2 separate regions of the Homo sapiens genome follow, and region 2 is linked to region 1. Evidence: promoter capture Hi-C in 16 types of primary human blood cells and fetal thymus (Javierre and others, 2016). All regions are on one chromosome and are shown on one strand. Each heading gives the region's core, a stretch centred on a gene start or on the middle of the fragment in contact. The rest is flanking DNA. Distances are from core to core; before and after follow the strand shown.

What was found. Contacts are between HindIII fragments. The CHiCAGO score rates a contact against its expected background, and 5 or more counts as called.
Region 2: the fragment with the promoter of B3GLCT here is called in contact with a fragment that was not itself captured in region 1 in 1 of 17 cell types (non-activated CD4 T cells); the score reaches 9.1 in non-activated CD4 T cells.

Annotation. Positions count from the first base shown.
Region 1 is chr13:33,540,649-33,546,319 of GRCh38, reverse strand. It overlaps a transcript of STARD13 not described here. Among named protein-coding and RNA genes, the nearest start is that of LINC02344, 210 kb to the right of the region's middle. RefSeq lists enhancers at 3,204-3,313, 3,414-3,513. The HindIII fragment of the contact is 1,343 bases long and covers 1,735-3,077 here.
Region 2 is chr13:31,197,379-31,203,049 of GRCh38, reverse strand. It overlaps B3GLCT (beta 3-glucosyltransferase), which reads right to left and starts at 3,075. Exons shown (of 15, transcript NM_194318.4): 1 at 2,896-3,075. The coding sequence starts at 2,965. RefSeq lists silencers at 2,115-2,364, 2,425-3,324, 3,375-3,434. The HindIII fragment of the contact is 2,637 bases long and covers 1,979-4,615 here.

The DNA of each region.
Region 1 (5,671 bases), core at 1,157-3,656:
TAACAGCTGAATCAACTTAATTCTTCTTAGACAAATGCTTTTTGCCACAAATATTCATTATACATCCATTTACATATTATGTTCTTAGAAAATAAGAGAAAAAAATCAGAAAAGGAGGCTTCCACATAATAATAGGAATTATTTTTGAAAGAAAATCTGACGTGGGAATCCTAATCTAATTACTGTATCAAAGTCAACCAATTCTTGGTTGAAAGTAAACTACAGTATCATTTCATAAGAGTGTTTACTGATGAAATTAGCCAGGATAAATTGTAATGTTAACAGCCATAATAAATAAATGTCATAAAATACTAATTACTTTTAGTCAACAAAATAAGGTTATTTAACAACTGTCTTAGTCCATTTATTTTTCTATAAAGGAATACCTGAGGCTGGGTAATTTATGAAGAAAAGAGGTTTACTTGGCTCACAGTTCTGTAGGCTGTACAAGAAGCATGGTACCAGCAGCTATTTCTGGTGAGGGCCTCAGGCTGTTTCCACTTGTGGGTGAAGGTGAAGGAGAACCAGCATGTGCAGAGATCACATGGTAAGCGAGGAAGCAAGACAAAGCAGCAAGAAAATCGATAGGAGGGAGGTGCCAGGCTCTTAACAACCAGCTCTGACAGCAACTAATAGAAAACTCACTCATTATCACTAGGAGGGCATCAAGCCCTGTGTCAGGGATCCACCCCCATGTCTGAAAACATCTCCCATTAAGCCCCACCTCCAACACTGGGGATCAAATTTCAACGTGAGATTTGGAGGGATCCAACAAACCAAATGATAGCAATAATGCTCCCAAAATACAGCAGGTATATGAAATATAGCATTACTAATGAAGTGTCCTTTACATCTTCTCTGCCTGCTTCATTAGTGAATTTATTACAATAAAGTTTAAAATAAGGCAAAGAACATTCACCTTTCGGGCCAGGCACAGTGGCTCACGCCTGTAATCCCAGCACTTTGGGAAGCCGAGGCAGGCGGATCACGAGGTCAGGAGATCGAGATCATCCTGGCTAACACGGTGAAACCCCGTCTCTACTAAAAATACAAAAAATTAGGCCAGGCGCGGTGGCTCACACCTGTAATCCCAGCACTTTGAGAGGCCAAGGCGGGTGGATCACCTGAGGTCAGGAATTCGAGACCAGCCTGACCAACATGGAGAAAACTGATCTCTACTAAGGAAAATACAAAATTTTAGCCAGGCATGGTGGCACATGCCTGTAATCCCAGCTACTCAGGAAGGCTGAGGCAGAAGACTCACTTGAACCTGGGAGCAGAGGTTGTGATGAGCTGAGATCGCACCATTGCACCCCAGCCTGGGCAACAAGAGCAAAACCCCGTCTCAAATAAATAAATAAATAAATAAAACAAAAAAATTAGCCAGGTGTGGTGGCACACGCCTGTAGTCCCAGCTACTCAGGAGGTTGAGGCAGGAGAATCGCTTGAACCCGGGAGGCAGAGATTGCAGTGAGCTGAAATCTGGCCACTGCACTCCAGCCTGGGCGACAGAGCAAGCCTCCATCTCAAAAAAAAAAAAAAAAAAAAAGAGAAAAAACAACAAAAAAACAAAACCATGCACCTTTCCCTGATTTAAATGATTCATCAGTAATTATCCAAATACATGGTACTAGCCTATTAGGGAAATACCATGGTTTTAAGACAGTTGTTCTCAATCTTTTTTTTCTTCTTTTCACGAAGGCCCATTCAGGCTAGAGCAGAGAGGGGGAAGCTTACATCCAGTAAACAAAATAGCAGTGATTTAAATAAAACTGAGACCAGAAAACCGACTGCTTTCTACATTTTAGGAACTGATTATCATAAACATAAACTTATCTAACAATATCTGTATTTCTATTTGTAGCAAGCACAAAAGTTACAGTGTGCAGCACACTTTAATCACTGCGTGATTTAATTACTGTGTCAATAAAGGCAGTGGCACAGTCAGAATTTGACAGAATTGAGAAAAGTCCTGCTGAAAAGATGAGACAAGTTCTGAGATGATCATTTTTTATAATGTAAGCACTGTGTACATTTATAAATGGCACGGTAGGGATGGGAGTGGGCTGGGGGTAGAGAATTCCGTAAAACAAGGGAACTTGAGGAAATGCAAAAGACTGAAAAAAACCTGGCATCTTCCAAAGGGTAAAATTAGTATGATTGTTTAAACTATTTTGTCCTTAATTTTAGTCATTTCTAATTTAACAGCTAAAGAACAATTACTGTATAATAACTGAAATATTTAGTATACTTGGTATTACAGCACCCTCTATCACATGATCATATACAGAATACATTTCTATGAACTGGTTGCTTTAATCTGTGAACATTTATGTAGCTCTCTACTGGTTCTAGGGTTTAGTTTACTACTTCCCATCCACGGAGTCAAAAGGACTACTAACTTGTGCAGGCTTAGTATCACCAGTATATTTTAGTACCGTCTGTCCTGCAACAGCAAAAAGCATTATTGACAAAGCAATCCTGAACTCTAAATTATTCCAGGTGTGGTCCTAGTACCAACAGCATCAGAATCACCTGAGATTTTACTAGAGCTACACTAATCCAGCTGTATCCTCAGACCTTCCCTCCCAGTTATAACCTCTGGTGTTGAGGCCCAGCAATCTGTTTTAACAAGCCTTCTAGAGAATCTGGATGCATGCTCCAGTTTGAGAAGCATTACTATAGGAGAAATACAATCAAAGAGTCAAGTTAACATGTGCTATCTAAACTCTAAAGGAAATTTGTTTCATTATATATTTTGATATCCACAGCACCATTCCAATAAAACATTTAGAACAACTCTGTTAGTACTCCAAGATTACAGGAAAAAAAGAACATTATTAAAGGAAAATGTGTTGATTTTACTAACTTTGGGGAAATTACTTTTCCTTTCTCTGATTATCTAAAAGAAACGTGACATGCAAACGAATCTACATTGAGCATTTCTGAGGCTACCTTTCTGAAACTTCCATGGCCTATTTTAAAGCAAATTACTACATTCTGCTTCTCGATGGGTTCCTAACATACACAGCAGGCTTTTACAACAGCGCTTTAATAGGCCAAAGGAAACAAAAGCTTTTACAGCAGAGGCCAATGTAAGCCACAAAGCTCGTGTCATCTTCCTACCAGGCAATTAATACAGGGTCCCAGTCCTCAAAGATTAAAGAACTGATACGGGGAAGACTGAGAATGACCCAGCAACAACGCATAAGGAAGCAAAAAATAAAAGGACGCCGTTTCTTCTGGACTTAAAACTAGAGAAAGAACAGTTTCCGCTCCATTTTGGGTTTGTAAAGCTCCTCCTACAGGCAGCTTCCGCTTCAGAGTCGCCACAAAGTCCCTCCCGCGCGGGAACTCGGCGGGGCGGAGACTCGGGTCCCTCCCCGTCCAGGGCGGGAGAAAGGAAAGCAGGGGCCACGGTTTCTCTGGAAGGTTCCGAGAGAAGGGCGCGTGCCACCTCCGCGGGTGGCGGGAGACTCGGCACCAGATGGCGCTGCCGCACCGAGAGCCAGAGCCTGGGCCGCTGGGGAGACGGGAAGAGGCGTCACCGGATCCCTTCCTTTGCGCTCGTTGCCGGAAATGTGCGCTGCAACCAGCCTCTGGTCCCGGATATTAAGACTTCTGGAGGGTTCCCGCGTGAGGGCGGGGCCAGAACCGGAACCGAACGGCGACCGACGAGCCCCGGAGCGGAAACCCGGGGCGGCGCCAGCGGGCCCTGGTTGCTGGTGCGCGCGCCTCGTCTTGGTGGGAGGGCGAGGGGCGGGGTCTCGCCGTGCGCTTGCGCACTTTGGGGACGTAGGCGCGGTCTGCGTGTGCGTCTTTTTCAATGTTTGCACGTTTGCTAGGCAGGCAAGGCGGAAATGGTGGCGTAATGGGTTTTGTTTTAAATCCCGCCCACGGGGTTTGGGTTTCTGGCTGTGAGTCAGGTTTCTGGAAGGCTTTATGGAAAATTAATGGTATAAGAGGTAAAACTGGATCTGTACTGTTTTCTTAGTCCTTAGCGATCCAAATGCAGTCTGGGTGCGGTCTCAGTGCTAAGATGGACCCAGCCTTCCCCTCTAAATCTTAGTGAACCGGCTTGATCCCCCGGTCTGTTCATCTTTCAGTGTTTATTCTGAGAAGGTAGGGGTGTCACAAGGAATAAAAAAGGCACGCAAACAAATAGACTACTCGTGTGGAACCAAAAACATTTTCAAATTATTTAAGAAAGCATGTCTTCGTGTTTTTTAAACTTTTTAGCAAGCGATTCTCTTAAGGAGTTTAGTTTTTAATTTTTGTCGATACACAGTTTTATATTCTGTGTTTTCTGGTGTGGCCTTGGTCTTTTATCAAATTTTAAAGGAAAGCCTCTTGTGCAGATGTGTTACAAAGAAAAATTTTGTCATTTTTTCACTTTTGAATTTTGGAGGACCATAGTAGTTTCTGAAAGTGCATTGGCTTTGTTTTTAGATGCTGCAAGGAAACAACCAAGTGTGTTGCAGAAATAAAATCTGTATGAATCTGCATCCGCTCCGTTTAATTTTAAACTAATTCCAAAAATGTCATCTGTGCAAAGTGCTCAGTTCTCCTGGAAAATTTCTTCAGCCTTGGTAAACACTTTTATCTGGATTTCAAAGCTCTTTGCAGTCCAGGGCCTATATAAAAACAATCCTTGTAAAAGCCAGAGGGAAAGGAATACAGGCTTTTAAGTAGATATTTTGAAAGAAACAGCAGTGGGCCGGAGGATATAAGAAAGATTGTCCGAAATTGCCAAATAAGTGTATTTCATTGTTTTTTGCTAAAACCGTTTGATAGTCTGGGTAGTTGGTACTGGAAAAAACGCTGCTGTGACGTGAGGAGTACTATGGCACCTGTTTATGTAGAAGTTAGGGGGATATTGCAATATCATTCAAGATTGGTCAGAAATAGGGCAAGAAGGAGGCAGGATATCCAAAGGGGAAGAAAAGGGGAAAATGTTGGAAGATACTAGAAAACACGTGAAAGAGGTCAGAGCTGAAGCTGTAATAGGTCTTCAAAGAGTGATCTGGAAGATTGCAAAATAGCTTTTAGACCCTAAAATCAAATGTGTGGAATATGGAATCAGTTTATTTCATCATTGCATACTTCAGCTTTGGCTATATCCCATTTAGTTGCTTACTTTTTTTTTTCGACTTTCCCATCTTTCTCTACATCGTATATAACCAACCTTAAATTGAGGGATTGCTTCATTTTGCTACCATTATACTATAAAGTTACAGTAACATAGCCCTTCACAGTTCAAAGAGTACACATATATTCAGAAATAGTGGCATTGACTCCTTTGCAAATATCCTCAACTCTTATCCCTCACTTTTAGCACTTCCCTGGCAAAACTCAAACCATGGATGAACTCCTGCATGCATTTATCTTTTCTGAGCTTGGGCTCAGCCTGTTAACTGTTGGGTGGACTAGTGTGATCTCACACCTAAATTGGCTCTGCATATTGATCAGCTCTCCTACTCCTTTGCTTTACTGACTTTGCCCTTTCCTTCTGTAATCCAAATATCTCATTCTTTTCCTTCCTCAAATTATCAACTTCCTCAACTAATGACTTTGCCTCACACTTTATTGAAAAAAGAATTGTGAGCATAAGCCAAGAATTTTTGTGTATTCCCACCATCGAATCTATTTGTGTCTGCACTCATCAAACATC
Region 2 (5,671 bases), core at 1,826-4,325, 2.3 Mb after region 1:
AGCTAATACCTATTATTTTATCAATATCATTGGTTCGAATAAGCTTCTTCTATCAATTAGGATTAGGTTTGGCAATAGGATTAGGTTTGGCTGCATATAATCTCATGCAATACAAGTCTGCAAACAGGAAATGCAGAGCTGACATGATGCTCCACATCCATCTGGCATCCAGGCTTCTTCTATCTTTCTCTTCTACCATCCTTACTACTGGCTTCCATCTTCAAGGTCACCTCATGGTCACAAGATGGCCACCATGGCTCCATCCCTCAGATCCACTTAATAGGCAATGGGAAGGAGGATAACACAGAGCAAAAAGGCCTGCATCCCAGCTGAGTCAGCCACCTTGAATGAGCTTTACCAGGAGCCCCACCAAACAATCTCTAAAGATATCTCTGTAGAGCACTAGCTGCCCCTATATGCAAAGGCCACTGAGAAATGTCTCACAGTGCTGCTGCCACCGCTGCCACCACCACCCCACCATCCTTCCCCCCAACCCAGATTATATTAGTTTTGTTAGGAAAACAAGGGCTAAAGGGTTACTTCGCAGGTGGCTGTCAATCTCTGCTACAACGGGATCAGTATGTTAAAACTGTAAGAGGTGGCAAAGTGCTAGTATTCTATCCAGTCCATTCGCCCTGTTCATATGAGAAAACTGAAGCTCAAAGCCACTAAAAGCCACACAGCTAACAAATGGTAACCTGGAGGCCTGACTCAATCTTCTCATTCTGAAACTGGTGCCAGACTTTAGAACCAAAGTTGCAGTGAACCGTGTCTGTATATGCATGTGGGTTTAAAAGAAATTTTCTATATTGACTTTTCTCTAAAAATATAAACAAATATGCTCTAGTTTGTGGGGAAACTAAACTATATAGTCAGGCCAATCTTATATGGGAATATTTAAGGTATTTATAAACTATCAAGATTGTTCACATGTGACAGAACGCCTGTCACATTCTGTTTCAGCAAGATTCCAAGAACATCGTAAGTGGGGACATCTTTATACGTGTCGGTGCCCTTCCCCTAAATCGAAGCAGAGCTCCATAAAAGGTATTCATGATTCACTTCAGACCTCGAAGAATACAGCCTCCCGTCTGTGCCAACCCATGAAAGCCAGTTCCCAAAGGCCAAATGTCTCACAGGGACCTTTTAATGCATTTTATGTCTTATTTATTGTGCTTATCTGACAACTTCACAAGGCTAATAGACATCTCTAAAAATGTGTTGACATCTTAGTGCATTCTGAATGTCCTTCAGTGTATTATCAAATTTGGACAGTGCAAATATTCCCCTGGGGGTAATAAAAAATAGACACAGCAATACAAATGTGCATTTCAGCCCATATGTTGTATATATTATATACAAATATTATACCCCCAGTACAGCATTATAAAGTGCAGTGCTATAAATAGAATACCAATTTCAGCTACCACCCACCCATTTGGTTAGTTGCAAAACATCCAGGCAACAAGCCAACTGATGCAGCCAGGAGTCACCCAGTCGCTTTCCCAAACCTCCAACCTCCCTTTCTCCCAGGGCTGCCACCCAGCAATGCCCTTCTTCCACTGAAGCCGATTCCAGCCAAATTCAGTCGCTCCCCAAGACCAACTACAGCCTTCTCTGCCGGAGGTGCCCTAATATTTTTAATTACACTGCTGCCTAATTAATCATGCATGTAAACAATTACCAACTAATCTTGCTCTTTTCCCACACTTACTGAGCGCCTATAGAAATGCCAGAAGTACACAAATGCAGCAAATTAATCCTTATTCAGAGAGCTTAAATACAAATAAAAACAGGCTGTCAAGGTTCCGGTGGGCTAACAAGAGCAGTGCGCAATAACGCTACGTCTTTTCCTAAACTGCACCATTCTGCCATTACTAAAAAATCTGAAATCATTGCCTTTTCACACCAGCAAGTCTGGGTTAGAGGACAAAAACTCTGTAGCAGTCTGAAAAAAAAATAATTTTTCGCTCAAGCTTTCAAAGTTGAACAAATCTGATCATGAAAGTCAATTACAAGGCTGCTTTTTTTTTTTTTTTAACTTTTATCACATCGTTTTAAGATAAAGGGGGGAAATGCCCTTGCGAGGAGAAAAGAAATAAAAAAGAATGGGCATTACAGCAGCAGGAGACCGGGCAAGCACTGCTCTGCTCGCAGACGTGTCCCCTGATGTCCCCAGCGGAGACCCGAGACAGGAGCAAGCCTCCCCGCCGCGCCAGCTCCCGCGGAGGCCCAGCGGGCGCCCCTGTCCTCCTCCGGGTCGGAATCCGGGAAGGGCTGGCGCCGAGCTGGCCGCTTATCCTCAGGGGCCAGGGCACGTCCCGAAGGCCCTGCGGAGGGGCGCGCGGACACCGGGACCGCAGTCCTCGCCCCCGGGGGTCGAACAGGAGCCGCGGGGCCTCGAGGGCCGCCTCGCCGGCTCCCGTCCAGCCTCCCGCCCGGCGCGGGGCGCGCAGGACGGCGGAGCGCGGGCGGAAGGCAGGGGGGCGGGACCGCCGCCGCCGCCACTCGCGCTGTTGCAAAGTTTCTTCGGTGGCACAGTTCCTGCGCGCTTCCTGTGGGGGCGGCTGCTGCGCCCTCGCCGCCCCGTCGCCCGCCGGTTCGGGGCGGCAGAGGCTGGGAGACGCGAGTCTGGGGCCGGGGCGGCAGCGGGGACCCAAGACCGAAAGGGGCCGAGCGGGCACGCCTCGGGTCCCGGGCCCGGGTCCCACCTGGGCGCCGCGAGAGGGCGCTGCTGACGGCGCGGCGCGGCGGGGACCGGACGGCGGGACGCGCGCGCCGGCGGGGCAGGGCTGGGCCGCCCTGCGCCTCCCTCCCCGCGCCGACCGGGGCACGGGCGACTGTGCCCGCGAACCCCACGCCTCGCCCTTGCGCGCCTGGCCGCCCGCTACTTACCCAGGGAGCAGGTGAGGAGCGCGAGCAGCGCCGGCGGCGCGAGCAGCCACCAGCAGGCGGGCGGCCGCATCCTGGCGGCGGAGGCTGAGCGCCCTACCTGGGCGCGGGGAAGGGAGACGCGCGGGGAGCGGAGCTGCGCCGCTGCCGCCGCCGCCCTGCCGCCGCGGCTGACCCTTCTCTGCCGGCTCCCCTCCTCCCTCCGTCTCCGCCGCGCCATCGCCGGCCGCGCCCTCTGGCGGCCGGGAGCGGGAGCACCCCTGTGCGCGCTTCCAGCGTCTGCCGGGCTGGCGGCTGCGGCTGGTGTCCGGCCCGACGGGCTGCTGCGGTAGAGGTGGCCGCGGCTCTGCCCTCACGGCGCCCTCCTTCGAGGCGTCTGACCTCTGCCCCCTCCAGCCACCAGCCTCCACCCCTCCTCTTCCTTTCTCCTCTGCGTCCCTCCTGACCTAGGCCGCGTCCCCTGCCTTCATGCCCTCCCACCTTACCGCGTCACCCCCATCAGTAGTTCTACCTGTGAAGTGGAAGCGAGCAGTAATCACTTTTCCTCCCTGCTAATGTATTATCTGCTGTGGAAAAAAAAATGTAATCAATAGTTCAACTCTTAATATTGTTGGCACCAATGCTCTACTTTGATGAAGGTGTTTTTAATCAGCTCAACTAATTTACTTAATATCCCCTTTAAATGGAATTTGGCCAATAGCCTAGGTCTGGGATTTGGCTTTTAAACAAGTTTGTGTAAATGTAATTTTCTATAAATGTAATTTTAAGTGTTCACCATAATGGAAGAGAGTGGGTGTAATTTTATTCAAAATATAAAAATTAATTAAACTGGAATACAGAGAAGTGGAGCAATGTGGGAGTGCCTCCTGTTCCCGCAGGACTGCGAAGGGCTTTCCTCCCCAGCCCGGTAGAGTGGTGGCCCTGATAGGGGACTGGTCCTGTTGTGTTGTGTGGTGCACTGAAGGGGAAAGCATTACAAGTAAGAACTAGAGGCTCCCTTCAGTGGTTCTGAACTCCTTCGTGCCTCCCTCAAGCCTTGGCTCACTTCTGTTTCCAAGGAAGTGCACAGGACCAAGTGCTTTTCCCAGCCCTAGTTTAGCCCATGACCTCTTGAAGGCAGTTTCTATGTTTTCCTTCATATTTACTCATTTGTTGGATACCTACTATGTGACTGCAACTCTGCTAAGCACCCTAGGAATGCCAGTATCTTTCACATGGACATACAACATTCACCTACTTGCTAAACATTTAAGGAGGAGGAGGCCCTGGGAGTACAAGTAGGATGGCCCTGGGAATACAAGTAGGATGTCCTGGAGACAGAGAAGCAGGTGCTGAATAAACATTTGTAGGCTTGAGCCCTCTTAACTTGAATGCGTTTAGGGGACTTAGGCTCTAATGCATTAGGACAGTATTGTCTGCAATTGTGCAATACCTGCTGGGATTGTTTTGAAAAGGAGGCCTGGAGACAAAGAATTTTCTCTCTGTGTGGTTTATATTGACTTCTTAAAACTGGGAACTAAATATTTCACGTGTGATCCATTTAGTGTGAGTGCAAATAGTTCCCTTTTGTTCCATTCGCCCAAGGTTTATGGTCTCTTGTCAATACCATTTTGATGGGAGGAAAAAGAAATGTAGGGATCCTTCCATTTCATTTCTTAGTGAAGCATTTCAAATCTATGGTTGACTGAATTCATTGCTTTTATCCTTGGGAAATTCTCAAGCTTACCTGCCTAGTAGTTCTAGATTGTTTCCAATTTCCAAAGCTGTTTTCGCTTTTTTCCAAGAAAATATTCCTTGCATATGTGGGGTAGTAAACATTTAACCAAACTGTTTAATTAGACACAGAAGACTAATAAGCAGGGTCAAATGCCTACTCCACGTGGGTAAGCAACTCCTGGTGCTTAATCAATGTTTTCATGGAAATTCATCATGTTAGAGTATTACTATGTTCCAGAACAAGGTGTGGAAAATTAAGCCCTAAGGACAACAGAGAACACACCGTTTAAGTAATAAACTTGCCCTGGTGTCCTTCCTTTCCACAGTAGACATAGATAAATGGCACATTACAAAGCTCCATAACTCACATTTTAAAAAGAATTGCCTTTCACTTACTCTAGTCATATGATAAATGGACTTGCTGGGAGTTCTCTCTCCCAATCACATGTCAGGAGAGTTTCCTAGAGCAACGTACTGATGAGGATACTAACAGATACATGATAGGCACTGCTTGCCTATAACATTGACTGTAAAGGAACAACTCTAAGTAGAAAAAAAATAAATCCTATAAACTTTAAGATTGTGATATGAAAACAAGCAAGCCATCTTCTTGGGATTTACTCAATCCCAGCTGTCACCTCCATGCTGGCCCCTGAAACTTTCTTTGTTGAGGGACAGGGGAAGAAGCAAGGAGCCATCTTTTGTTGGGGAAGGCACTGTCGCAACCTGGTTAAAACAGACTGGTAATTTTACAGATAATTTTCTAAATACTAAAGGAGAACATAAAGACATACTAAAACCACTGAGAGCCAAATAATCTAATGAACAAGTTCCAAACAGATGGTTTCTGATCTTACAACAGTTATCCTTGAGGCCCAAAAGGCTGAACTCCATTCATTCAAATGATAGGGAGCACCTCTAGCTGATGTGCCCTTTGCTAAGCTCTGGGGCAGATATTAAAGAGCATAAAACATGGTCCTGGGCCCAAGAACTCACGGTCCAGTTTGGGAGACAAAAATGTTCATAACTAACTTTGCTACCTTCTTATAAATGCTATGGCATG